7 separate regions of the Homo sapiens genome follow, and regions 1, 2, 3, 5, 6 and 7 are each linked to region 4. The links are contacts of gene promoters, found by promoter capture Hi-C in blood cells and fetal thymus (Javierre and others, 2016). All regions are on one chromosome and are shown on one strand. Each heading gives the region's core, a stretch centred on a gene start or on the middle of the fragment in contact. The rest is flanking DNA. Distances are from core to core; before and after follow the strand shown. Region 1 overlaps ACAT1 (acetyl-CoA acetyltransferase 1). Region 2 overlaps CUL5 (cullin 5). Region 3 overlaps CUL5 (cullin 5). Region 4 holds the start of C11orf65 (chromosome 11 open reading frame 65). Region 5 overlaps CUL5 (cullin 5). Region 6 has its middle 5.4 kb from the start of CUL5. Region 7 overlaps CUL5 (cullin 5).

What was found. The method cuts DNA at HindIII sites, captures the fragments that hold promoters and counts their contacts. A CHiCAGO score of 5 or more calls a contact.
Region 1: a contact is called between a fragment that was not itself captured here and the fragment with the promoter of C11orf65 in region 4, in 5 of 17 cell types (total CD4 T cells, naive CD4 T cells, naive CD8 T cells and 2 more). The highest score is 7.7, in total CD4 T cells.
Region 2: a fragment that was not itself captured here is called in contact with the fragment with the promoter of C11orf65 in region 4 in 1 of 17 cell types (total CD4 T cells); the score reaches 5.1 in total CD4 T cells.
Region 3: a fragment that was not itself captured here is called in contact with the fragment with the promoter of C11orf65 in region 4 in 1 of 17 cell types (total CD4 T cells); the score reaches 5.4 in total CD4 T cells.
Region 5: a contact is called between a fragment that was not itself captured here and the fragment with the promoter of C11orf65 in region 4, in 2 of 17 cell types (total CD4 T cells and non-activated CD4 T cells). The highest score is 6.9, in total CD4 T cells.
Region 6: a fragment that was not itself captured here is called in contact with the fragment with the promoter of C11orf65 in region 4 in 1 of 17 cell types (fetal thymus); the score reaches 6.0 in fetal thymus.
Region 7: a fragment that was not itself captured here is called in contact with the fragment with the promoter of C11orf65 in region 4 in 4 of 17 cell types (naive CD8 T cells, total CD8 T cells, naive B cells and 1 more); the score reaches 6.4 in naive CD8 T cells.

The regions. Positions count from the first base shown.
Region 1 is chr11:108,125,357-108,129,190 of GRCh38, reverse strand. All of the region lies in intron 1 of ACAT1 (acetyl-CoA acetyltransferase 1), which reads right to left. Among named protein-coding and RNA genes, the nearest start is that of ACAT1, 5.7 kb to the right of the region's middle. The HindIII fragment of the contact is 4,164 bases long and covers 376-3,834 here.
Region 2 is chr11:108,090,097-108,093,861 of GRCh38, reverse strand. The region is part of intron 13 of CUL5 (cullin 5); the gene reads right to left. Among named protein-coding and RNA genes, the nearest start is that of ACAT1, 30 kb to the left of the region's middle. The HindIII fragment of the contact is 5,776 bases long and covers 1-3,765 here.
Region 3 is chr11:108,049,075-108,052,605 of GRCh38, reverse strand. It overlaps CUL5 (cullin 5), which reads right to left. Exons shown (of 19, transcript NM_003478.6): 4 at 2,540-2,716. Among named protein-coding and RNA genes, the nearest start is that of CUL5, 42 kb to the right of the region's middle. The HindIII fragment of the contact is 4,378 bases long and covers 1-3,531 here.
Region 4 is chr11:108,465,885-108,469,597 of GRCh38, reverse strand. C11orf65 (chromosome 11 open reading frame 65) reads left to right here and starts at 2,069. Exons shown (of 9, transcript NM_152587.5): 1 at 2,069-2,127. RefSeq lists a cis regulatory region at 1,985 and enhancers at 1,913-2,057, 1,998-2,850. The HindIII fragment of the contact is 4,195 bases long and covers 1-2,905 here.
Region 5 is chr11:108,065,934-108,069,482 of GRCh38, reverse strand. All of the region lies in intron 7 of CUL5 (cullin 5), which reads right to left. Among named protein-coding and RNA genes, the nearest start is that of ACAT1, 54 kb to the left of the region's middle. The HindIII fragment of the contact is 3,557 bases long and covers 69-3,549 here.
Region 6 is chr11:108,001,744-108,005,298 of GRCh38, reverse strand. No RefSeq gene overlaps it. Among named protein-coding and RNA genes, the nearest start is that of CUL5, 5.4 kb to the left of the region's middle. The HindIII fragment of the contact is 4,460 bases long and covers 1-3,555 here.
Region 7 is chr11:108,024,917-108,028,983 of GRCh38, reverse strand. All of the region lies in intron 1 of CUL5 (cullin 5), which reads right to left. Among named protein-coding and RNA genes, the nearest start is that of CUL5, 18 kb to the right of the region's middle. RefSeq lists an enhancer at 2,964-3,063. The HindIII fragment of the contact is 2,762 bases long and covers 756-3,517 here.

The sequences.
Region 1 (3,834 bases), core at 1,208-3,707, 340 kb after region 4:
TGGAATTGGAGACTATTATTCTAAGTGAAGTAACTCAGGAATGGAAACACCAAACAGCTTATGTTCTCACTCATAAGTGGGAGCTGCGCTATGAGGACACAAAGGCATAAGAATGATACAGTGGACTTTGGGGACTCAGGGGAAAGGCGGGGGGTGGGGGTGAGGAATAAAAGACTACACATTGGTTTACAGTGTATACTGCTCAGGTGATGGGTGCACCAAAATATCAGATACCACCAATAAAGAACTTATTCATATAATCCAACACCACCTGTTCCCAAAAGCCTATTGAAATAAAAATTAAATTTTAAAAGTCCCCTTTCTACTTAGCTAGTTTGTTCCTTGTTTACTAAGCCACTTCTCTTCTTTCAAGCTTCTGGTCCAGTTTAATGGAATCTTCCCTGGTTCTCTCCACTTTACTCTGGATCCCATTTCCAGTTGCCTTTTCAAAGATGGCACAGTTATCCCTTCCTTCTCCTCTACATCATTCACCCCTTTTACTTCTGGATAATTCCATAAGCATACAAACAGGATCTGATTCCCCCCACCTAAAAAACAAAGTAAAAACAAATAAATGTCTCTTGACCCACATTCCCGAGCTTTCACCTCATTTCTTTTTGAAAAAAGGCTGGAGTGCAGTGGTGCGATCTCAGCTCACTGCAACCTCTGCCTCCCAGGTTCAAGCAATTCTCCTGCCTCAGCCTCCCGAGTACCTGGGACTACAGGCATGCGCCACCACGCCCGGCTAATTTTTGTATTTTTAGTAGAGACAGGGTTTCACCACGTTGGCCAGGCTGATTTTGAACTCCTGACCTCAGGTGATCCGCCTGCCTCGGCCTCCCAAAGTGCTGGGATTACAGGCATGAGCCACTGCACATGGCCTCACCTTACTTTAGTTCTCTTTGGCAAGAAAGGTTCTCCAGGTTACCTACAGTGTCTATTTGCTTGTCCTCACCTCCTCTTTACAGTTCAACCCACTCAGATCAGGATTTTATTTCTGCCAGTTTACCACTGTTGGTTCTGAGCAACATCAGCAATGTCTGTGTAGCAAAATCCAACTCGCTATAATTGTCTCACTTAACCTTTTAACACATCAGCAAGACTGGGCTCACCTTTCTTTGAGAAATATGCTGAGCAGTTAAGAGCCTGGGCTTACCAGCTCAGTATTCTTTGTTTGTTTGTTTTGTAGAGACAGAGTCTCACTATCTTACCAAGCTGGTCTCAAACTCCTGGGCTCAAGCGATCCTCCTGCGTTGGCCTTCCAAAGTGCTGGGATTACAGGCGTGAGCCACTGTGCCCTGCAAGCTGAGTATTTTTGAGCAAGTTACTTAGACACACTTACCTTGGTTTTCTTAAATACCCTCCACAGGCTGTTATGAGAATAAAATGAGGTAATATGTATAATCCACTGCAGAAACCCTTCCTTGTCTTGGCTTCCATTACAAACGTGGACTCCTTCCTACCTCATTAGTCATATTTACCTCAGTCTCCTTTACTATCTCATCTTCCCCTTCCAACCTCCAAGTGCTGAATGTCCCAGGGCTTTGTTCCAGGCCTCTTTTAATTTAACTTCACTATATCCTTAGTTATATCCAGTCCCATGGCTTTAAAAAGCATTTATGAGGCCGGGCACAGTGGCTCACGCCTGTAATCCCAGCACTTTGGGAGGCCAAGGCAGGCAGATCACGAGGTCGGGAGATAGAGACCATCCTGGCTAACACGGTGAAACCCCATATCTACTAAAAATACAAAAACAAAATTAGCCAGGCGTGGTGGCGGGCACCTGTAGCCCTAGCTATTTGGGAGGCTGAGGTGGGAGAATGGTGTGAACCCGGGAAGTGGAGCTTGCAGTAAGCCAAGATCACGCCACTGCACTCCAGCCTGGGTGACAGAGTGAGACTCTGTCTCAAAAAAAAAAAAAAAAGGCTTCTATGTGCTGATGATTTTCCAAATTTCTATCTCCAACCCTGACCTTTCAACTGACCACCAGACTCACACCCAAGCGCCAACCTGACAGCTGCAGGTGAATGTCCAAATCATAGCTCTCAATTTCCAACCCTAGAAAACCTGTTTGTGGCCAGGTGCAGTGGCTCACCCCTGTAATCCCAGCAGTTTGGGAGGCCGAGGGGGGCGGATCACGAGGTCAGGAGTTCCAGACCAGCCTGGCCAACATGCTGAAACCCCGTCTCTACCAAAAATACAAAAAAATAAAAATAAAATAAAATAAAAAAATAACAGGGCATGGTGGCACGCGCCTGTAATCCCAGCTACTCCAGAGGCTAAGGCAAGAGAACTGCTTAAACCCGGGAGGTGGAGGTTGCAGTGAGCTGAGATTGCGCCATTGCACTCCAGCCTGGGTGACAGAGAAGACTCCATCTCAAAAAAAAAAAAAAAAAAAAGAAAACCTGTTTGTTGCCGGTATTCTCAGGTGCTCAAGCCAAAATCATCCTTCATCCTTCCCTTTATTGCAATCCCTAAAATCCAGATACTGTGAACAGCGTCCAAAACATAACTAAATTCGTCCACTCTGCCTCATGTCTACTGCTGCCACCTAGTCCAAGCCACCATCTCTTGTTCCTATTAATGGCCTTCTACCTAGTTCCCTGCCTCCCCTGACACCTCTCTACAGTCCCTCCAGCTTTGAAAAATGTAAATCAGATCATATCACTCTACTGCTTAAAATAATTTAACAGCTTTTCATTGCTCTTGGAATTATATACAAATTCTTTACCTCATCCTCCAAGAACCTGCATGATCTGGCTCTAGGTTTTCTCTCCAAATTTACATCACTCTTGCTCTGTGCCAGCCACTGGCATCTCTTTGTTCTAAACCCTATCCCGATACCTCAAGGTCTCTGCAGTGTGCCTCTGCCAGTAATAGTCTCCTCAGGCCGGGCCTAGTGGCTCATGCCTATAATCCCAGCCCTTTGGGAGGCCGAGGCAGGTGGATCACTTGAGATTAGAAGTTTGAGACCAGCCTGGCCAACATGGTGAAACCCCGTGTCTACTAAAAATACAAAAATTAGCCAGGTGTGGGGGTGGGCACCTGTAGTCCCAGCTACTTGGGAGGTTGAGGTGGGAGAATCGCTTGAATCCAGGAGGCAGAAGTTTCAGTGAGCCGAGATCGCGCCGCTGCCCTCTAGCCTGTGCAACAGAGTGTGATCCTGTCTCCAAAAAAATCAAAAACAAAACAAAACAAAAAGTCTTCCCAGCTCTCCATGGCTGGCTCATTTTTATTCTTCATGTCTTTTCTTTTTTTTTTTTTTTAGACGGAGTCTCACTTTGTCACCCAGACTGGAGTGCAGTGGCGCGATCTCGGCTCACTGCAAGCTCCGCCTCCCAGGTTCACGCCATTCTCCTGCCTCAGCCTTCCAGGTAGCTGGGACTACAAGCGCCCGCCACCACGCCTGGCTAATTTTCTGCATTTTTATAGAGACAGGGTTTCACCTTGTTAGCCAGGATAGTCTCGATCTCCTGACCTGGTGATCTGCCCGCCTCAGCCTCCCAAAGTGCTGGGATTACAGGCGTGAGCCACCACACCCAGCCTATTCTTCATGTCTTTTCTAATGACACATTCCCAGAGTGGTCCACCCTAACTACTCTATTTAAAGTTACCCTCTACTTTTTCCTCTCTTTTATATGAATATCTTTATTTCCTTCAAAGCACCTCTTACACTGTAAGTATGTGGTTCACATCTTTGTTTTATTATCCACCCCTCCAACATAATACAGGCTTCCTGATGGCGGGATGGTGTCTCTTGCTCACTGTTACATCCCTATGACTTAGCACAGTGCCTAGCGCTCCTTCAATATCAGAAACGAATGACAAAATTAT
Region 2 (3,765 bases), core at 1,079-3,578, 380 kb after region 4:
AGGATATGGCGGCATACTGCCGAGATAGTCCCAGCTACTCGGAAGGCTGAGGTGGGTGGATTGCTTGAGCCCAGGAGTTTAAGCTCTGATTGTGTCACTGCGCTCCAGCCTGGGCAACAGAAGATCCTGTTGCTTGAAAAAATTAAATAAATAAATTTTTAAAAAATGTAAACACAACCTATTAGTCATTTGTTTATTCAGTTAAACTGCAGACAGCAAAGTATGCAGTTTCATTGCATCCTTGTCTTCCAGTAATAAACCCACATGACTACTTACAAAAAAGAATAATCAAACAAGATAATTGGCAAAGATATAAAAGTAAACAGGAAATGAAAAGTGATAATGCTGGAAATGAAAATAAAATAGAACATAAATGGAGTTATAGAAGAAAGCTGACTGTGGTAGTAAGGCTGACAATGCCAGTGTTGAGGAACTTAGTGAAAGCAAATTACCAACATAAAAGATAAAAGTGGTGAGTGACAAAAAAGATAAGATACCCTAGAAGAAGTGATCCTGGCAAAAATGCTATAAAGGAATTCTCAGTATTTCATGACACTGACAGCCCAAAAGATAAAATGCTAGAAGATCATCCAAATTACAGGGGGTGTGACAACTCTCCAAGGCAAAGAAAAGATGCTTACTCTGTCAAGTTACACAAGAAGGCAAAAGCTATTCAAACTACTCTTTATTAACAGCTTTACTGTGTCAGATAATTTATCTACCATAAAATCTACTATTTTAAAGTATACAATTTGGCTGGGCTCATGCCTGTAATCCCAGCACTTTGGGAGGCTGAGGCGGGTGGATCACCTGAGGTCAGGAGTTCAAGACCAGCCTGGCTAACATGGTGAAACCCATCTCTGCTAAAAATACAAAAATTAGCTGGGCATGGTGGCATGCGCCTGTAATCCCAGCTACTCAGGAGGCTGAGGCAGGAAAATCGCTTGAACCTGGGTGGCAGAAGTTGCAGTGAGCCAAGATCGCACCACTGCACTCCAGCCTGGGCAACAAAGTGAGACTCTGTCTCAAAAAAATATAAAAAATAAAAATAAAAATAAAATATACAGTGTAATGAAGTTTAGTATATCTACAGAACTGTGCAACCATCACCACTATCTAATTTTAGAACATTTTCATCACCCCAAAAAGAAACCCCATACTATTTACAGTCACTCGTCATTTCCCCTCCTGGCCCCAACTCCTGGAATTTGTGGATTTGCCTATTCTGGACACTTCACATTAGTGGAATCATACGATATGGTCTTTGGGATTGGCTTCTTTCACTCAGCATTATGTTTTCAAAGTTCACCTAATATTGCAGCATGTATTATTAGTTTATTCCTTTTTATCACAAAAAATATTCCATTGTATGGATAAATCACATTTTATTCATTAGCTCACTGACATTTTGGGTTGTTTCCACTTTTTGACTATTATTAGTAATCTTGCCATGAACATTTGTTTACAAGTTTTTACATGAAACATGTTTTCATTTCTCTTCAAATGAATTACCTAAGAGTGAAATTGCTGGGTCAGCTCTACGTTCAACATTTTAAGGAACTGCCCAACAGTTTTCCAAAGTGTCTGCACCATCTTATGTCTCCACTAGCAACTTACGAAGGTTCCAATTTCTCCTCTTCCTTACTAGCATTTGTTATCATCTGTCTTTATTTTAGCTACCCTAGTGGGAATAAAGTAGTATCTCTTTGTGTTTTTTTTGTTTTTGAGAAAGGGTCTCACTCTGTTGCCCAGGCTGCAGTGCAGTGGCACAATCTCAGCTCATTACAACTTTGAACTTCTGGGCTCAAGCAATCATCCCATCTCAGCCTCCTGAGTAGCTAGAACCACAGGCACACATCACCATGCCTAGCTGATTTCTGTATTTTTTGTAGACATGGAGTATTGTTATTTTGCCCAGGGTAGTTTCTAACTCCTGGCTTCATGCAATCCTCCCACCTCAGCCTTTCAAAATATTTGGGATAAGCAGGAGCCAACATGTTGAGCATTTCACTTGCATTTCACTAATGACTAATGATGTTGAGTATCTTTGCATGCACTTATTGGCCATCTGTCTATCTTCTGTGAAGAGATGTCAATTCGAATCCTTTGCCTGCTTTTAATTATTTGTCGTGTGTGTGTGTGTGTGTGTGTGTGTGTGTGTGTGTGAGTGAGAGAGACAGGATCTGACTCTGTTGCTCAGGCAGGAGTACAGTGGTAAGATCTCTGTTCAATGCAACCTCCACCTCACAGGCTCAGGCGATCCTCCCACCTCAGCCTCCCAAGCAGCTGGGACTAAGGTGCATGCCATCACACCCAGCTAATTTTTTAAATTTTTGTAGAGATGGGGTTTCACCACGTTGCCCAGGCTCATCTCAAACTCTGAGCACAAGCCATCTGCCCTCCTCAGCCTCCCAAAGTGCTGGGATTACAGGTGTGAGCCACCATGCCTAGCCTTGTTTGTCATTTTACTGTTGGGTCTTGATATTTTTTTTTTAACAAAGAAATAACATAGGCCGGGTGTGGTGGCTCACGCCTGTAATCTCAGTACTTTGGGAGGCCGAGGCAGGCGGATCACTTAAGACCAGGATTTCAAGACCAGCCTGGCCAACATGCAAAACCGTGTCTCTACTAAAAATACAAAAATTAGCCAGGCGTCATGGCACAAACCTGTAGTCCCAGCTACTTAGGAGGCTGAGACAGGAGAATTGCTTGAATCTGGGAGACAGAGGTTTCAGTGAGTCAAGATTGCACCACTGCAATCCAGCCTGGGTAACACAGCAAGACTACATCTCCAAAAAAAAGAAAAAAAGAAAGAAAGAAAGAAAATTTAATTCTAAAGGTTTCTCGTAGTAAATATGTATTAGTTTTGCTATTTTCCCCTTTTTCCTATATACTTATAAGTGACAGTAAGAGTTTTGAGTCTTTTGACAATAGTTTTAAAAAGTCACAGAATAATCATTCTTTTTCCTACTAAGCAGTTTCAGTTAGCACAGTAATTTTTACTATCCTAAAGTTCCATGCGAAGGGCTAGCTATAAGTTAAAATATCTGTAGGTCTCTCTCGTGTGTGCTTGCTCGCACTCTCTCTCTCTCCATATATATGTGGAGAGAGTTATATACATACACAGAAATTAAAGATATTTACTTTAATAATTAAAACAAAAAAAGAACTCAAAATACTTTATATGGGAATTTAGTTATAATCAGCATTGATTACCCTAAATAGGCCATCATTTAAAGGTTCTTTTTGCTATACAGAAGTATTTATTGTTATCATTTATAAACATCTCTAAAGTTAAGCATTTAGTACTGAAAATACCTTAAAGATATAATAATTTGTCCTGCAGTCTATTTATTTATTTTATTTTTCTTGAGATGGAGTCTTGCTCTGTCACCCAGGCTGGAGTTCAGTGGCTCGATTTCAGCTCACTGCAAGCTCCGCCCCCCAGGGTTCATGCCATTCTCCTGCCTCAGCCTCCCAAGTAGCTGGGACTACAGGCCCCCCACCACCACGCCTCGTTAATTTTTTTGTATTTTTAATAGAGACTGGGTTTCACTGTGTTAGCCAGGATGGTCTCGATCTCCTGACCTTGTGATCCACCTGCCTTGGCCTCCCAAAGTGCTGGGATTATAGGTGTGAGCCACCGTGCCCAGCCCCTGTAGTCTATTTATTAATAAGGTCAGTTTAAATGAGAGTTGAGGTACAAATGGGAGTGAAACAGTAGAAACAACTCAAGAACAAAGATACTTTACTGAAAGTATTAAG
Region 3 (3,531 bases), core at 788-3,287, 420 kb after region 4:
ATCATGTACAAACACCAAAAAAGGAAATCAAATTTGTAGGCCTGGGCCAGGTGCAGTGGCTCACGCCTGTAGTCCCAACAATTTGGGAGGCCGAGGCAGGTGGATCGCTGGAGTCTATGAGTTCAAGACCAGCCTGGGCAGCAGGGCAAAATCCTGTCTCTACAAAAAAATACAAAAAAAATAGCCCAGTGTGGTGGTGCACGCCTGTAGTCCCAGTGAGCCGAGACCACGCCACTGCCCTCCAGCCTGGGTGACAGAGTAAGACCCTGTCTCAAAATAACTTAGGTTGCATTCACTTGAATACTTCGGGGAAGCAGTATATTTAGCATAATGGTAAAGAAGGGTCGACTGCGTGTGGTCTAATCCCAAAACCTTGGGAGGCCAAGGTGGGAGGATCACTTGAGGCCAGGAGTTTGAGACCAGCCTCGGCAACACAGTAAGACCCATCTCAACAACAACAAAAAATACAAAAATTTGCTAGGCATGCTGGCATGTGCCTGTAGTCCCAGCTACTTGGGAGGCTGAGGTGGGAGGATCACTTAAGTCCAGGAGGGCAAGGCTGCAGCAAGCCAAGATCACACTATTCCACTCTAGCCTGGGCAACACAGCAAGAGCCCATTTCAAACAAAACAAAAGTAAATAAAGAACAAGTGTTTCAGAATCCAACTGGATTTGAATCCCAGCTGTTACTTATTTATCTGCTTTCTTATGTATAAAATGGTCAAAATAATAGTGCAAATTTCAGTGGTTGTAAAAATTAACTATGATAATACATGGAAAATGTTTATTCTCCTATAGTTCCATGGTTGAATTTCAGATATATTGGTGTGTTTGAAATAGACATATGCATATGTTTGTAAAGACACATAAAAAATGTAAAAAGGACCAACTGAAAATCTGATACTGGACCTTATAAAAGGTCTGCAAATCTACTGTTTAGATGTTCCATTAAAATGATAAAAATGGTATATAAACATTGGTGATTATATCAGTACTCCAAGAAACTTGGTCAGATGTAGGAGATACATTAATGACAGCAACAATAACAACAAGAGTTAACAGTTTTATAACACTCATTCTATACCTGGGACTGCTCTATGTATTGTCTGCATGTAACTCATTTAATCCTCATAATCTTGATATAGGTACTATGATTATCCCCCCTTTAGATATGTGAAACCTGGGGTACAGATAGCAAAGCTAACTTTCCACATTTATGCACCTCATCAGTGGCAACACTGAGATTTGAATCCAAAAACTGTGGCCCCAGAATTGATACACTTAATCACTAAGTGGATGCTGCTTCCCACAACCAATAGAATGGCCAAAAAAAGAGGACAAGATTATGAGACTACAAATTAAATCGCAGCCAGAAGTGTTTTTCACTTTTTTTTTTCCCTTGGCACAAATTTCCCATATTGCAGTGATTTCTATCACTGAAGAACCACTGGGTATCTAAATTTACAGTATCCCTGTCAACATCAGATCAAATTTTAAGGCTGGGATGGGGCAACAATGCCCAGGTTACACTATTGTAATGCCTGAGTGTTTTACTGTAACCATCACAGTAAACAGTAAATTGACTAAAGTTCAAATGGCATTTTTTACTTTTCAAATCTACGGTCCCATTTTATTCTTACAAGTGGAAAGATATATGGAAAATGAGGACGGAGTTTGAAGAGCTGAAAGGGAAACCTAGGACCCTTCATATTCAGCACTGAGTTCTTTCCATTAAATCATGACTGGTTACTTGACACAATTTTTAAATAGAAAATAAGCACAGTATATACTGAATTTATAATAGAAGAGTTAAGTAAAAGGGAAATTATAAAGATAGCAGTTTAGCCACAATTAAACATAAAGATATCAGAAGGTAACCTAATAAAAGGGGATTTTTGAGACAGGGAGAAAAGTAATTTAATTTCTAGTAAGGGTATAGGTTGGGTGCAGTGGCTCACGCCTGTAATTCCAACAGTTTCGGAGGCTGAGGCAGGCAGATCACCTGAGGTCAGGAGTTCGAGACGAGCCTGGCCAACATGGTGAAACCTGGTCTCCACTAAAAATACAATAAAATAGCCGGGTGTGGTAGCACGTGCCTGTAGTCCCAGCTACTCAGGAGGCTGAGGCAGGAGAATTGCTTGAACACAGGAGGCGGAGGTTGCAGTGAGCAGACTGCGCCACTGCACACTCCAGCCTAGGCGACAGAGTGACACTCCAGTTTAAAAAAAAAAAAAGAGTACAAAGAAAGAATAGAGAAATAAAATACTGAATACCAGGAGAAGGAGAAAGTAAAAAGGAAAAGTAAAGGAGATAATGGTTGAAGATGCAGATCTATAGCTTAAGACCACATAAAAAGATGAAAGAAGATTGAAGCTAAAGACAAAAAAGAATATTATTCAATAAAATCTAGTTAAGAGCTGAAAAGCAATTGACATGTGAAGTAGAAAAACCCACTTAAAAGTTCAAATTACTTTCAAATGCTTCCAAATTACCCTCTTTCTGAAGAATATTAGGAAAACAAGGAGAAAAATAGTCTTACCTTTCGAACAATACTGTCTTCCACATTTGATTTTTTATTGCTGCCCTGTTTACCCATTAAAGTAATCTCTAGTTGACAAAAAGGTTTTGGTAAAATATCACATTGTGTAAAGAACTTTCGCCATTCAACAATATATGCTTTTAGCAAAGCCGTATCATCTTGATGGCTCAGTACTCGCTGAAAAAAAGAGGTGTACCAATTTGAAATAAATGCAGTTGCTTTGAAAAATTAAGAACATATTCATGCCAAAATTTAAATTGTACATAATTTTTAAATTATTGTACAAGCTCTTATATCCAAAAGAAATTAAAACATGTTCACAAAAAAACTTGTACACGAATGTTCACAGCAGCATTATTCAAAATAGATAAAAAATAGAAACAACCCAAATATCCATTAGCTGAAATACGGATAAACAATATATGGGCCAGGCGTGGTGGCTCATACAGTAGTCCCAGCACTTTGGGAGGCTGAGGCGGGAGGATTGCTTGAGCTCAGGAATTTGAGACCAACCTGGGCAACATAGCAAGACCTCATCTCCACAAATAATACAAAAAATTAGCTGGGTGTGTTGGTGCGTGCCTGTGGTCCCAGCTACTTAGGAGGTTGAGGTGGGAGGATTGCTTGAGCCCCAGCAGTTGAGGCTACAGTGAGCCATGATTGCACCACTGCACTCTGGCCTGGGCGACAGAGCAATACCCTGGCTTGAAAAAAAACTAAACAAATGAAAAAAGAAACCAAAAAACCCCACAATATATGGTATATCCAAACAATAGATATTATTCAGCCATAAAGAGAAACAAATATTGTGAAAGAAAACTAGTCACAAAAGGCCACATATTATGATTCCAATTACAGAAAATGTCAAATATAGACATATCCATAGGGACAACAGATTAGTGATTTAGTGGGTTGGGAGAAGGGAGTGACTGTTCATAGGTATAGGATTTCTTTTTAGGGTGATGAAAATATTCTGGGATTATTGGGTGATG
Region 4 (3,713 bases), core at 820-3,319:
TTTTTAAAATAATTCAGATAAGCACTACATTAAAAATATGCAGTTTATTAGGTTGATGCAAAAGTAATCGCGGTTTTTGCCATTATGTTTAATTATGTATGTTTAATGACAAAAACCGCAATTACTTTTGCACCAACCTAATAAAAATAATATCTAAACAGCAGTATACCTTAAATTTATTTTTATATTTCATCCAGTACATTTAGGAATTTTTGTTCTAAATTATTTACTGGCTTAGTTTTGCAGTTTTTTAATTTAAAATTTTTAAATTGTGGTAAAATATACATAAATTTATCCTTCTAACTAGTTTCAATTGTACAATTCAGTGGACTTAAGTACATTCACATTGTTGTGTAATTTTGAATTTAATTTTTTTTTTTTTTTAGAGGGAATCTTGCTGTGTTGCCAGGCTGAAGTGCAATGGCGCTATCTCGGCTCACTGCAACCAACCTCTGCCTCCCGGGTTCTATCAATTCTCCTGCCTCAGCTTCCTGAGTAGCTGGGACTACAGGCAGCGCGCCACCAGGAGATTGAGACCATCCTGGCTAACACAGTAAAACCCCGTCTCTACTAAACATACAAAAAATTAGCCGGGTATCATGGAGGGCGCCTGTAGTCCCAGCTACTTGGGAGGCTGGGCTAATTTTTGTATTTTTAGTAGAGAGGGGGTTTCACCATGTTGTCCAGGCTGGTCTTGAACTCCTGACCTCAAGTGATCCGCCCACCTCAGCCTCCCAAAGTGCTGGGATTACAGGTGTGAGCCACCACACCTGGCCTGAATTTAAATTTTTTAACCCAGTTTCTATTAGATTGAAAATTAAGATATACATAATGTTTCCATGACTATATTTTTACAGTTTATTGTTCATAACTACTGTGTATTAATGCATCAAGGCAACTACATAAAGAGGAACTGAAGCTCACCCCTTGCTTATGATTGTGATGATTTTAAAGAACTCTGGAAGTTCAGTGAGTCACTGAATTAACCTACCAAGAATTTTTTCTGTACAAATGTTTTCATTATACAGGGAAATTTCTCTTCAGGTGTTTCTTTTCCCTCCTTAAAAGTTTATCTTCCTTACAAACAAATTATATTCCATGCATGAACATAGGACGAACATAGCAAAACTGGGCAGTTCTGAACAAGATTTTTTCACATTGCAATAATCTGTGACCAACTAAAGCACTGCCAAAGTGTCAGACTCAGAATTCAAGCAAGTCAGACTTGCTTTAGATAAGCAGTGCTTGCATTATTTAAGGTCATTTGAAAACTCATTCAAGAGGTCGTCTGTTTTCACTTAAAGCAGTTTAGCTTAACCAGCTGAAGAGCTTACATTTAGAAATAACATTGGACTGCAAGTCACGTATTCTTTGACCTTGAGCAAGACCTGTCAAATAGCTAGAAGGATCAGTTGTCTCATTTTCAAATGAATAAATTAAACTAATTAAATAGGCCGGGCGCGGTGGTTCACGCCTGTAATCCTAGCACTTTGGGAGGCCAAGGCGGGAGATGGGGTAGGGGGGGATCGCTGGAGCCCAGGAGTTCAAGACCAGCCTGGACAACATGGAGAAACCCTGTCGCCACTATTAATAAAAATAGAAAAATGAGCCTGGCGTGGTGGTGCACTCCTACGGTCCCAGCTACTCGGGAGGCTGACGTGGGAGAATCACCTGAGCCAGGGGAGTTCCAGGCTGCAGTGAGCCGAGATCGCGCCACTGCACTCCAGCCTCGGCCACAGATTGAGACCCTATCTCAAGAAAAATTTTACAAAAATTAATAGAAAATATTTCATTATATTTCTCAACATCTTTAAGGTTCTTGGTTGAAATGACTGGGCTTTATTATATACTAAGCCCAACTTCGTAGACAATCACTTTGCTTTCCCTTCCAAAATCCTTTGCCTCAAAGCCACTGACAATCGAAAGCGGGCTTCTAACAGAACCAGCAGCCTTCACAAGCGGTTGGTCTATATCCCCTGCACTTTGTCAGAGCGCGAATAGAGGAAAGGCGGGGCCTAGAAGGCGGGGCTAGGAGGGCAATGGGGCGGGACAGAACGGATTGAGTTACGTCATTTCCGCCTGCGACGTTACCTAGGAGTCCAGCGGCGCCCGGGCCAGCAGCGATTGGTAGGTGAAGGGAATAGTGTCCCTTCTCTCAGCGCGTACTACTGTTCCGGTAGCCTTTGTGCCCACTGGTTTGAGCCTTCGTTGTTTCAAGGCCCTAAAGAACCCATACCCTTGATACCATTCCCCATCCGCCCCTCTTAAGGACGTTTCATTCCTCTAAAGCCCTCCCAGCGAGGCCTCCAGCTGGTTTACAGTCCTGCCCGGGAGTAACCCCTTCCTCAGAGCTCCTTTCCTCGCCCTCGGTGAAGTTGCGTCGGGCTGGTTGACAAGTCCTTACTGCTCATACTGCGCCTTCACAGATCCCCACACCCCAATCCTCCGCAAAGATATTACTCCGTCCACCTTCCCGCTGACCGGGAAGTACACATTAATCTTCCTTAGATTTTTCCTCATTTCTTTCCTTTGCCCCCTCCCATTTGTTTTACGTCTTTTCAGTTTTTTTAGAGATGGAAAAGGGAAACGCGTTTTTAAAGAATAGGTTAGTTTTTCTTCTCCTGCCCCTAGCATCAAGGACCACAGGTAAAAAGGAAAAGCGAAATTACGAAACTTATAAAGGCCACGCGAATCATTTGTTTATTCAATAAATTTAGTAGAGGAAACAAAATAGGACGTATACAGGTTCCAATTCAAGCAAAGTAAAGATTGTTTGCTGCTTTAAAAGTGAAACCAAGAATCCAAACACGTCTTGTGGGCTTTTTTCCACGAAGCGTAAAAATAAATAAGTGAAAACATCATCTATTATGATAAAAAATTTTATTGATTAGGGATATAATAAGCTTGGAAAATACTTATCTGTGAATCTACAAGTGGCACATGGGTGTAGTAAAATACTTCATTGCCTGAGCAGTTGTTTGATAGTACATTTTATTTGGTTAGTTTTTTGTTGTTGTTTGTTTTTGAGAAGGCATCTCGCTGTGTTGCCCAGGCTGAGTGCAGTGGCGTGATCTCAGTTCACTGCAACCTCTGCCTCCTGGGTTCAAGTTATTCTCCTGCCTCAGCCTTCCGAGTAGCTGTGACTGCAAGTGTGCGCCACCACACCCAGTTTATTTTTGTATTTTTACTAGAGACAGGGTTTCACCATATTGGCCAGGCTGGTCTCAAACCCCTGACTTAAGGTGATCTGCCCACCTTGGCCTCCCAAAATGTTAGGATTACAGGCCTGAGCCACCAGACCCGGCCTGGTAGTACATTTTAGTATCTTAAAACTTATGAAGGGTTTTCACAATGGTTATTTTATCTGGAGCATCATAATAACCATATAAAGTCGATCTTATTTCTTATCTAAAGCCAGCAACGGTCCCACCCTCCTTTCTGCTCCAGATGGTGTCCTCTTACACCTACTCAAAGGTTTTACCATTTAACTTATCCCTTTTTTTGCCCCTTTAAGTTCTCCGTCACTTTAATTTCTCCCTCACTACTGGATGGTACATTTTAACATGCTTTAGAATCTGTCGTTTTTTGTTGTTGTTGTTGTTTTTTTTTTTTTTTAGACCGAGTTTCACTCTTGTTGCCCAGGCTGGAGTAGTGGCATGATCTCGACTCACCGCAACCTCCGCCTGCCAGGTTCAAGCAATTCTCCTGCCTCA
Region 5 (3,549 bases), core at 598-3,097, 400 kb after region 4:
AAATGGGATCCTGTAAAGTAAGTACAAGCCCTAAAATAGGTTACGTATTCTAGGAATACCAGGAAGCTTAAAATGGTAGAGAAGAAACAGACAGTGGAAGAGAAGGCTAGAAAGATAGGCTGCAACCAGATTATGAATGAAAATCTATGATTTGGGGTTTTATTTCATAGGTAGGGAAGGAAGAACAAAGGAAGGTTTTTTTGTTTGTTTAAGAGACAGAGTCTTGCTCTGCTGCCCAAGCTGGAGTACAGTGGCATTACTACATAGCTACTATCATACCTCACTACAGCCTTGAACTCCTAGGCTCAAGTGATCCTCCTGCCTCAGCCTCTTGAGTAGCTAGGACTACAGGGATGTACTATCAAGTCTGGTTAATTTTTTAAACTTTTCTGTAGAGATGATGTCTTGCTATGTTCCCCAGGCTGGTCACAAACTCCTGGTCTCACATGATCCCCCTGTCAGTCTCCCAAAGTGTGGGATTACAGGTGTGAACCATCAGGCCTGGCCCCAAGGAAGTTTTAAACAGAGGATAAATGTAATGAGATTCTCCTCTCCTCAAGTCATTATTAAAGATCAGTATAATGGTAGTAAGGCAGGTGGTAAGGAGTGGGTGGTTGGGATATGGTAACGAGGCTGTTGAACTATTTCAGGTAAGATAGCAAGGGTCTAGTGCTCTAGGAGGCCATCAGGAAAATCTAAATGAGGCAGAAGATATCATGTCATCTCTGCTCCCTCGTGTCATGTAATTATTTACTTCTCTTTTGGGGATCAGATGAAATTAATAGGTTGTGAGGACTAAAGTTAAGTACAATAAGGCTGATATATTTCTTCTGAAAAACAAATCATCTATCTGTAAATTAAGGGAGGCAATTATGTGTCCCTTAAAAATTTTTTATTAAAAATTCCTTTGGAATTGACATAATGTTGGTAACTACTAAAGCTGAATTTAGGTAATGGGGATTCATTATACTGTTCTTCCTACATTGTAAAAATGCTTAAAATTTTCCGAATAAAGAATTTTCTGTGGTCCCTGCGAGTTGGGGGGCTGAGGTGGGAGGGTCAGTTAAGCTCAGGAGGTCAAGGCTGCAGTAAGCCTTGATCATGTCACTGCAGTGTAGTCTGGGCGACAGAGCAAGACTGTCACAAAACAAAACAAAACAAAACAAAAAAAAAGGTTTTTTCAGGCTCCTCTACAAGAATGATGCTGATGACTTTTAAATGCATATATCCATGTATATTTCTGTCCTAAGAAAATAATACACATGGCTGGGCGTGGTGGCTCATAGCCTATAATCCCAGCACTTTGGGAGGCTAAGGCGGGCGGATCACCTGAGGTCAGGAGTTCAAGACCAGCCTGACCAACACAGAGAAACCCCATCTCTACTAAAAATTAGCCGGGCATGGTGGGTGCCTGTAATCCCAGCTACTCGGGAGGCTGAGGCAGGAGAATTGCTTAAACCTGGGAGGCAGAGATTGCAGTGAGCCGAGATCGTGCCATTGCACTCCAGCCTGGGCAACAAGAGCAAAACTCCGTCTCAAAAAAGGAAAAAAAAAAGAAAAATAAAGAAAAGACTACACATATAAAATGGTTAAGAAACTCTTTCCTTGCAAGGTGGAAATCTCTGCCCCAACTGCTGAGTAATCTTATTCTATAACATCACTGGAATAGGCCCAACTAAACACTTCCACCTTAAGCAGTGAAACCAGATTGAGCATAGGTAAATCTAACAATATATAACTAATAGAGAACAAAGACAAAGTGGAATCCTAATAAACTCTAAGCTCTGTGTTTTCTATTTCATTGAAAACTTTCACTTGAACATTATCCTGTTCAGTGGTAGTTGAAATTTTGCAGATTCTAAAAATCCAGACCAGTGTGTTTCAGACTGTATGTTGTGAAATCAGTTTTAATGGCTGTGACCAGGTTTAAAAAAAAAAAAAATGTACATAGGACAGAACAAAAAATATCAGAGTGTATCACATATTGTAACAATGAATATTATTTCATAAGACTTTTGTTTCAGATATGTACAAATAAACAGTATATTCTAAGCCACAATATAAAATGTATTTCTTATGGTGGGTTACAACGAGGATTAAAAGGAGAGCTAAATTGACAACATAATTAAAGTAAACTGAGAAGAATTTGGTAAATGCTTAAATGAAAGGGATTAGGGAAATAAAAGGATGTTGAATCCATTTCTAGCTTGAGAGGTTAAACAAATTATTATAACAGGTATCCTTTAATGGGCACTTACTTTGTACCAGGCATTATGCTAAATGCTTTACATATAGATCTCATTTAACCCACATGGCAACCTCATGAGGCAGATACTTACTTTATGAGGACATAGACTGAGAGTAGCCACATAACTTCCAAATGTTGCACAGTTGGTTCATAAGGTCTTGAGTTATAATTTGAGGCCAGGTATGTATCTCCATAGCCTCCAACTTTTCTTACTACAGAAGTAGAGCATGTACATACTTAGTGATGGCTACATGCTCAGAACTGAGTTACGTGTTTTAAGGAATAGAGAAGTATAAACATGGTTCATGCCCTCAATGATCTTACAATCCAGTTGGAAACCCATAAACTATATACCTAAAAACATGTGTATGGTTCATATGTACAGATGTGTATGAAAAGAAGATCTTCACTAATAAGCAAATAACTGGAAAATGCATCATTACTATACTATAAACTTAAGGACAAAGATTGTGCTCTGTCCACAGCTATAAAGACTGTGCTGTGTCCTGGCACACAGCTGGTGCTTGATAAGAAATACAAGGCAGTCTATAATTTGCTCCTAAACCTAGTGGTAGAAACAATAGTTACCACGGGAATTCAAATAGGAAGAAACTGATGAAGGCTAGATGATCTGAGCTACTTTATTACAATTTTATTACAAGGTGAGTTAAAAGAATCCTTGCAAGATTTTGGGTAGGCAGAAGAAAACACTGCTAAAATGAATCCAAAAAAAAAAGTAACAGAGTGAGTTGTATGAATAAAAAAATATTTCTTATTGGAGTAGAGTGACTCTTGCTGGACAATATTAAGTTAGAAAAATAGGTTAGGGTCAAATTATGAAGGGTCTTAAAAATCAGGGGTATGAAATAATGATACTCTGGTTTTTTTTTTGAGACAGAGTCTCGCTCTGTCGCCCAGGCTGGAGTGCAGTGGCGTGATCTTGGCTCACTGCAAGCTCTGCCTCCTGGGTTCACACCATTTCTCCCGCCTCAGCCTCCTGAGTACTGGGACAGCAGGCATCCACCACCACGCCTGGCTAAGTTTGTTTTTGTATTTTTAGTAGAAACAGGGTTTCACCGTGTTAGCCAGGATGGTCTTGATCTCCTGACCTTGTGATCTGCCTGCCTCAGCCTCCCAAAGTGCTGGGATTAGAGGCGTGAGCCACCACGGCCAGCCAGTACTCTAGTTTTTGAATAGAAAAGTAAAACAATAAAAGTGATGTTTATGAAAGATTATCCTGAATTCACAAAAGAATAAATACAAATGGTCAGGAATAAGAATAAATATGCAGACCAGGCTGG
Region 6 (3,555 bases), core at 375-2,874, 460 kb after region 4:
TTGTACTCCAGCCTGGGCAACAAAGAGCGAAACTCCGTCTCCAAAAAAAAAAAAAAATCACCTGCTAATTTAAGAAAATGTAGCCATCATGTTAAACCATAATACCTTACAAAATGAAAGTTCTCTATAAACTTTTCTCTCCCACCTCCTAAAATATCCACTGTTAGCCATTTGTTTTATTCTTCTCATTTGTTTTCTGTGTATGCAGTAAAATATATATAAAGGAGTTTGTCAAATGTGGCTGATCATTTACATCAAAATAACCTGGGGTGCTTATTTTAAAAGCAGATTTCTAGGCTCTACCCTCTGAAGATTCTGATTCTACAGGTCAGGAGTGAGGCCCCAAATCTACCTTTTCCCTAAGCATCCCAGGTGACTTTCCTTGTACACCAGTGGCCAAGAATTCTTGTGCATCAGTGGCCCAGAATTTCTCATAGAATACTTAAGAATGTGTGCTTTAGAACCAAACAGATCCTGCCATTTATGAGCTACGAGACGTTGGGTACATTACTTAACCCTGCTGAGTCATAGTTTCCTTGTCTGTATCTGTAATGTAATGTATTACAGTGGCTCACACCTGTAATCCCAGCACTTTGGGAGGCCAAGGCGGGCAGATCACCTGAGGTCAGGAGTTTGAGACTAGCCTGGCCAACATGACGGAACCCCGTCTCTACTAAAAATACAAAAATTAGCTGGGCATGGTGGTGGGTGCCTGTAATCTCAGCTACTGGGGAGGCTGAGGCAGGAGAATCGCTTGAACCCGGGAGTTGAGCAGTGGGCCGAGATTGCACCACTGCACTCCAGCCTGGGTGAGAGGGCGGGACTCTGTCTCAAAAAAAAAAAAAAGAAAGAAAAAGAAAAAGGAAAAAAATGTATTGCACGTGTAAGCACTCAGTAAATGTAGTAATAATAAGACCTAAAACATATAATGCTTACCATATGTCAGACACAGTTCTATGCACTTTACATAGATGAATACATTTGATGTAGGAATTTAATTCCTCCTTGTGGAGACCTTAAGTATCTTTTTTTGTTTGTTTCTTTTGAGACAGAGTTTCACTCTTGTTGCCCAGGCTGGAGTGCAATGGTGCAATCTTGGCTCACTGCAACCTCTGCCTCCCGGGTTACAGGCATGTGCCACCATGCCTGGCTAATGTATTTTTAGTAGAGATGGGGTTTCTCCATGTTGGTCAGGCTGGTCTCGAACTCCTGACCTCAGGTGATCCACCCGCCTTGGCCTCCCTTAGTGCTGGGATTACAGGCGTGAGCCACTGCGCCCGGCCTTAAGTATCTTTTAAACTTCACACCTGAGAAGAGGAAGAGTCAGGTAGCTGATGTGAATGATCCATCATTTAGAAGGGGAAAAATGATGATGGAAAGGATAGAAAGGAGAAAATGTGCTAGAACCATGTTCTTGATAAGGCAAGAGGATGGCACTTAGGGCACACATGGGGAGAGGTGCACCTTGGCTAGCACCATGGACAGTCACACCTACTAGGAGGATAGACACGAGACCGTCGATAGGCTCTTGGAAGTGAAGATTCTCTTCCGATTGCTTCTCTTCTCTAATTGAAGTTGGAAGCCAGGTCATGAGCTGATAGTGAGGATGCTGTGAGGTTTAAGAAGAAAGGAGAAAAGGAGAAGATGGGAAATTGTTATCTATGATGGTGGAAGAGGAAAGAGAAATATATAATGATTCCTGGGCATCCCTAAGTGCCAACTTGAGACTAGTTATCCCAGATTTTAATTGAGGTCTCTCAGCATAGCTAAGGAAATTAACATTCACCAGGGTTAAGTAATGTGCCTAAGGTCTCACAGCTCCTACGTGGCAGGACCTGTTTGATTCAAAAGACATATTCAGCCACTCGGGTGCAGGCGTAGAATTGGATGTAACCAAAGTTGGGGTTTTGCCGAGAGAGAATGATGGAGGGCATTGAGCATATATACAAGGGAGTGAGTATGATGATCGACCCTTGGATTTAAGCTGAATTAGGAGGCAAAGAACAGTGAAAAAACAGTAGGGTCAAAGTACCGTCCATTCACATTGGAGTCTAAGGATTGCTGGAGTCAAGATGGAAGAGGTACTAGGCTGAAAAGATAGCAGGGGATAGTTGGAGAATGAAATTGAGCTTAGGTTGTTATTGGGAGCATTATGGGTAGTGACAAAGGCTACACTCTGATCAAGATTGAGAGTAGTTGGCTGGGCGCGGTGGCTCACGCCTGTAATCCCAGCACTTTGGGAGGCCAAGGAGGGCAGATCACTTGAGGCCAGGAGTTGGAGACCAGGCTGGCCATCATGGTGAAACCCCGTCTCTACTAAAAATACAAAAATTAGCTGGGCATGGTGGCGCACACCTGTAATCCCAGCTACTCAGGAGGCTGAGGCATGAGAATCACTTGAAACCAGGAGGTGGAGGTTGCAGTGAGCTGAGATCACACCATTACCCACTAACTGGGAAATAGAGTGAGACTCTGTCTAAAAGAAAAGAGAGAGAGAGAGAGAGAGAGTAGTTGAGTTGGAGAACAGGAGAACAGAATCATTAGAAAAGTGGAGGTTAAGGAATGGAGAAGCCAGGCATACCAGACGCTTTCGGTGTTCAGTCACATCCTCTTGACCTATTTCTGATTTCATCAGCGGCTATGAACATTCTATGTGAGCTCAGATGTCCCTGATACCTTCCCACATGAAAAGAGCACCTCTCCTTTCTGCTTTCACCTCAAGGTCTTCTCTGAAGGTCCAGGAGCCTGCTAGGTCCACAGACAAGTGCAGCAAAGCACAAGGAAGACAATGCTTTTGGGGACAACTGCCAACCAGGAGAGTCAGCAGCCACTGGATATGTGTCCCAACCTCTGTTCCATTGGTGGACAATTTTATGGGGCACTCAGGATGCTTCCCAGAGATCTCAGTGGACCTGAGTCCCCTTTGTTCATGGTGGTGACCTTGATGGCACACTTTTCCTCCTTCCTTATCTTACTCTCCCTACTTTCTCATTCCTGCCTCTTGGGTTATCTCCCAAAGAAATCACTTCTATCCCAGGTCCTTGTTTCAGACTCGCTTTCAGGAGAAACCTTAATAAAACACCAGGGTACTAATAATCTTTTTTTTTTTTTTTTTTTTTTTTTGAGACAGAGTCTTGCTCTGTCGCCCAGAGTGGAATGCAGAGGCGCAATCTCGGCTCACTGCAGCCTCCGCCTCCCAGGTTCAAGCAATTATCTTGCCTCACCCTCCCAAGTAACTAATAATCTTTTATATAGAAGTTGAAATCACTAAGAATGACCACAGGAATAATGCTGGAGAGAATGATATTGGAGTCAAGATCTAAATTCATTAAGGAATGAGGGCATATGATCTGGGAAGTCATTACATGAATGAAAAGGAGCATTAATGCATGAGTAGCTGACTGACACAAGACTCAGAGCTGAGCGTTTTTAGGGAATGGGGAGGATGATCTGGAAGTGGCAGTGGGAGCAAAGAGGACCCATGCACGAACTGTAGGCCCGGTGGTACATCAGCCATCTTGTGAGAGAGATGCAGAAAAAACAGTGACTTCAGGA
Region 7 (4,067 bases), core at 887-3,386, 440 kb after region 4:
TCATAGAAGTAACTTAGCTTACTGGATCTTACTGAGCTGGATCTTGTAGGACCCTGAAGGCCATTATAAAGACTTTGGTTTCTACTATAAGTGAGATGAAGAGCCATTAAAAGATTCTGAGCAAGAAGTGTCATAATCTTTTTTATTTTTTATTTTTTTTGAGATGGAGTCTTACTCTACTGCCCAGGCTGGAGTACAATGGGGCGATCTCGGCTCACTGCAACCTCTGCCTCCTGGGTTCAAGCAATTCTCCTGCCCTAGCTGGGATTACAGGTGTGCACCACCACGCTCAGCTAATTTTTGTATTTTAGTAGAGACGGGGTTTCACCATGTCGGCCAGGCTGGTCTCTAACTCGTGACCTTGTGATCCGCCCGCTTCGGCCTCCGAAAGTGCTGTGATTACAGGTGTGATCCACCGCACCTGGCCTGAAGTGTCATAATCTTATTTACATTTTAAAATCTCCCTCATTACTATGTTGAGAATATATTATAAGGGGCAAGGGTTAAAACTGGGTGTAGGATTAGGAAGCACTGATGGTGACTTGGACTGAGGTGATAGCAATGGAGGTAGGAGGTATGAGAAGTGGTTCAATTTTAGATGCCCAAAAGGTGGTACTAACAGGACTTCCTAACAGTAAGCATCTGAGATATGAGAAAATGGGAGTAAAGCATGACTTTAAGGCTTTTGTCCAGTAAGTGTGGCACTACCATCAACTAGAATAAAAGAAGATTTGACAGGCTTATTAAGGAAAGCTTGTGAGACTGGTTTTAGATGTATTACATTTAACATATCTATTATACATTCATATGAAAATGTTGAATAGGCAGTCCAATATGGAAATCTAGAATTTAAAAGGCCTATCAGAAAATAAAAACTTGAAGTCATCAGAATACAGATGGGTTTTAAAACCTGTTATTGGATGAGATCACTGTGAGAGAAGTGATACATAAAGATGGAGACCCAAGCCTGAGGTTTTAGATATCCAACATTAAGAGGCGGAGAGAGGAGTAAGAACTAGCAAAGGAGACAAAGAGAGCAACCAGAGCACAGGTGGCAAGAAAACCAAGAGTATGGTATTCTGGACAAAAAGTAAATAAAGTGTGTCAGAAAGACAGAATAATCAATTTTAAGAATTTCTCCTGACAGATCAGGTAAGATAACCACTGAAACAGCAATATGGAAGTTACTGAAACTTTGTCCACAGAAGTTTTTGCAGAGTAGTAAGGACAAATACCAGATTAGAGTGGAATGAAGAGTGGAATTAAGAGAAACGAGGAGCCAGGCGCAATAGTTCATGCTTGTAATCCCAACACTGGGAGGCTGAGGCGGGCGGGTCACTTGAGCCCAGGAGTTCGAGACCAGCCTGGGCAACATGGAAAAAGCCTGTCTCTACTAAAAATACAAAAAATTTGGCTGGGCACGGTGGCTCACACATGTAATCCCAGCACTTTGGGAGGCCGGGGTGGGTGGATGACTTGACATCAGGAGTTCGAGACCAGCCTGACCTACATGGTGAAACCCTGTCTCTACTGAAAATACAAAAATCAGCTGGGTGTGGTGGTAGGCCCCAGTAATCCCGGCTACTCAGGAGGCTGAGGTGGGAGAATTGCTTGAACCTGGGAGGCGGAGTTTGCAGTGAGCCAAGATTGTGCCACTGCACTCCAGCCTGGACAGCAGGGGGAGACTGTCTCAAAGAAAAAAAAAAAAAATTAGCTGGGCATGGTGGCGCCTATAATCCCAGCTACTAAGGCCTGGAGGCGGAGGTTGCAGTGAGCCATGATGGCGCCACTGCACTCCAGCCTAGGCGACAGCGACAGTGAGACCCTATCTCAAAAAACAAATAGTAAATAAAAACAAAAATAAATAAGAAGAAAACTAGAAAGAGTACAGACAACCCTTCACAATTTTTCCTGTATAAGAGAGTAAAGAAATGGCATGGTAATTGATAGGGTGAGAGGAAGTGAAAAAATAATAATTTTTTTTTTTTTTTTTTTGAGACGGAGTCTCACTCTGTCTTTCAGGCTGGAGTGCAGTGGCGTGATCTCTGCTCACTGCAACCTCCGCCTCCCAAGTTCAAGTGGTTTTCCTGCCTCAGCCTCCCGAGTAGCTGGGAATACAGGTGCCCGCCACCATGCCCAGCCAATTTTTCTATTTTTAGTAGAGATGGGGTTTCGCCACATTGGCCAGGGTGGTCTCGAACTCCTGACCTCGTGATCCGCCCACCTCAGCCTCCCAAAGTGCTGGGATTACAAACGTGAGCCACTGCGCCTGGCCAAATAATTTTTTAAAGCTAGGATACAGTATGATTGTATGCTGACAGGAACATTCCAGGATATGAAATGTTGATGATGTGGGGAAAGGGAGAGAAACTGCTAGTGAATTTAAATTGCACTGGATAGGCAAGAGGGAATGGGATCTAGCGCATATGTGGAGGAAGTGACTACAGGCTAAGAGGAGAAGGCAAAAGAATGTACATGTAGGTGCTGGTACAAGGATAGATGTCGTACGACTCTGAGAAGTTCATATTTTATTGCTTTAATTTCCCAGTGATGTGGAAATAACGACAATGTCTGAGAAGATCGGGGAGGAAATGTTAGAATGTTGACAGAAAAGATGTGAAAAATACATCTAGGAAAGTGGAAGAATAAGTGACTCTGGAAATGCAGTATGACTGGCCTCATTGTGGTCATGGATTTAAGGTGCAAATAGCACGGTTGTGTCTTTTTCTCGAGTGACATTCAGCTGCACAGGTACTGGCACTGAAAAGTGAAGAGACAGATTTAACCAGGGTTGTACACTTTTCCCAAGCAGAACAAGACAGGGGCAAGGAAGCAAAAAGTGTATTGAAGGGAACAACTATAATGATTGAGAAGAGAATTTATGTTGGGTAAGGCGGAGAAAATGGACTTCAAGGTGAAAAGAGAAAGAGACTTCTGCTTCCCATCATGACAGAATAACAGGAACCAGATTTTCCCTCCTGCCTAAACAAACTAGAAAACCAAAAGCAGTGCAGGACAGCGCTTCCTGAGAAAAGAAAAACAAATGAGGTGAGCGCTACAAATGTCCAAACATACTGCCTAGAGAGTGTCTCCAGGCCTCATCACAAGGAGGGGAAACCCAAACAGCCGCTAGGGGTTTCACTACATTTAAGAGGCAGAGTTCAGAGTTTGAAAAGGCTGAGGTGACTAGAATTTGTGGCATCAAGGGAGCTCTGGGTATCTATACAGAAGGTCCCTGAGGCCTGTGGCTGAGTACTAACCTGTACCTGGGTGTGAGAAAACTGTAAGAGACTGGGGAAAGAACCATTAGGAAGGAATGGGAATGGGCAGAACAATCAGCAGAGTGCACACAGGGCCAGAAACAGTTAGTGTTGCTACCAGCCAGAGTGGAAACACCCTTTAAAGTGCCAGGCATTGGGTAGAGTCCACAGAAAGTTATTGAGTCTATAGTGGAGCCAAAGTAGCCCTACCCCGAGTGATATTCTGGACACACTCTAACGAAACTTAAAGGTAAGCTTCAAAAGGATCAAACTGATTCCAAGTTACCTAACTGCATCACAGCCAAATCCAAAACTATTTAGAGAAAAATTTTAAAATCAAGCCCCTAAAACATATACTCACAATGTCTGACATCCAGTTAAAAACTACCAAGCATGCAAAGAAACAGGAAAATATAAACTATCACCAAGACAAAAAAAATCACCAAAAGAAGCTGACCCAGAAATGACACAGGTGTTACATTCAGTAAACAAGGACATTAAGTCAGCTACTATACATATTCTATATGACCAAAAAGGTATGGGATGGCATGAACATCATAGAAATATTTTTTAAATGAGTATCAGTAAGCTGTGGAACATCAAATGACCTAACGTACACATAATTGGAATCTTGATGTAAGGGTGTAGAGAGTATTTGAAGAAAAATGCAAAAATGTTTTCTAATTTGATAAAAACTATAAACCACAGATATAAGACATTAAACAATGAGGTAGCAGAGTCACTGAACTGAAGGCTTTAGTAGTGGAGGTGGACTGTTGGAATAAAAGCACTAGAGAGAGTCAGAAA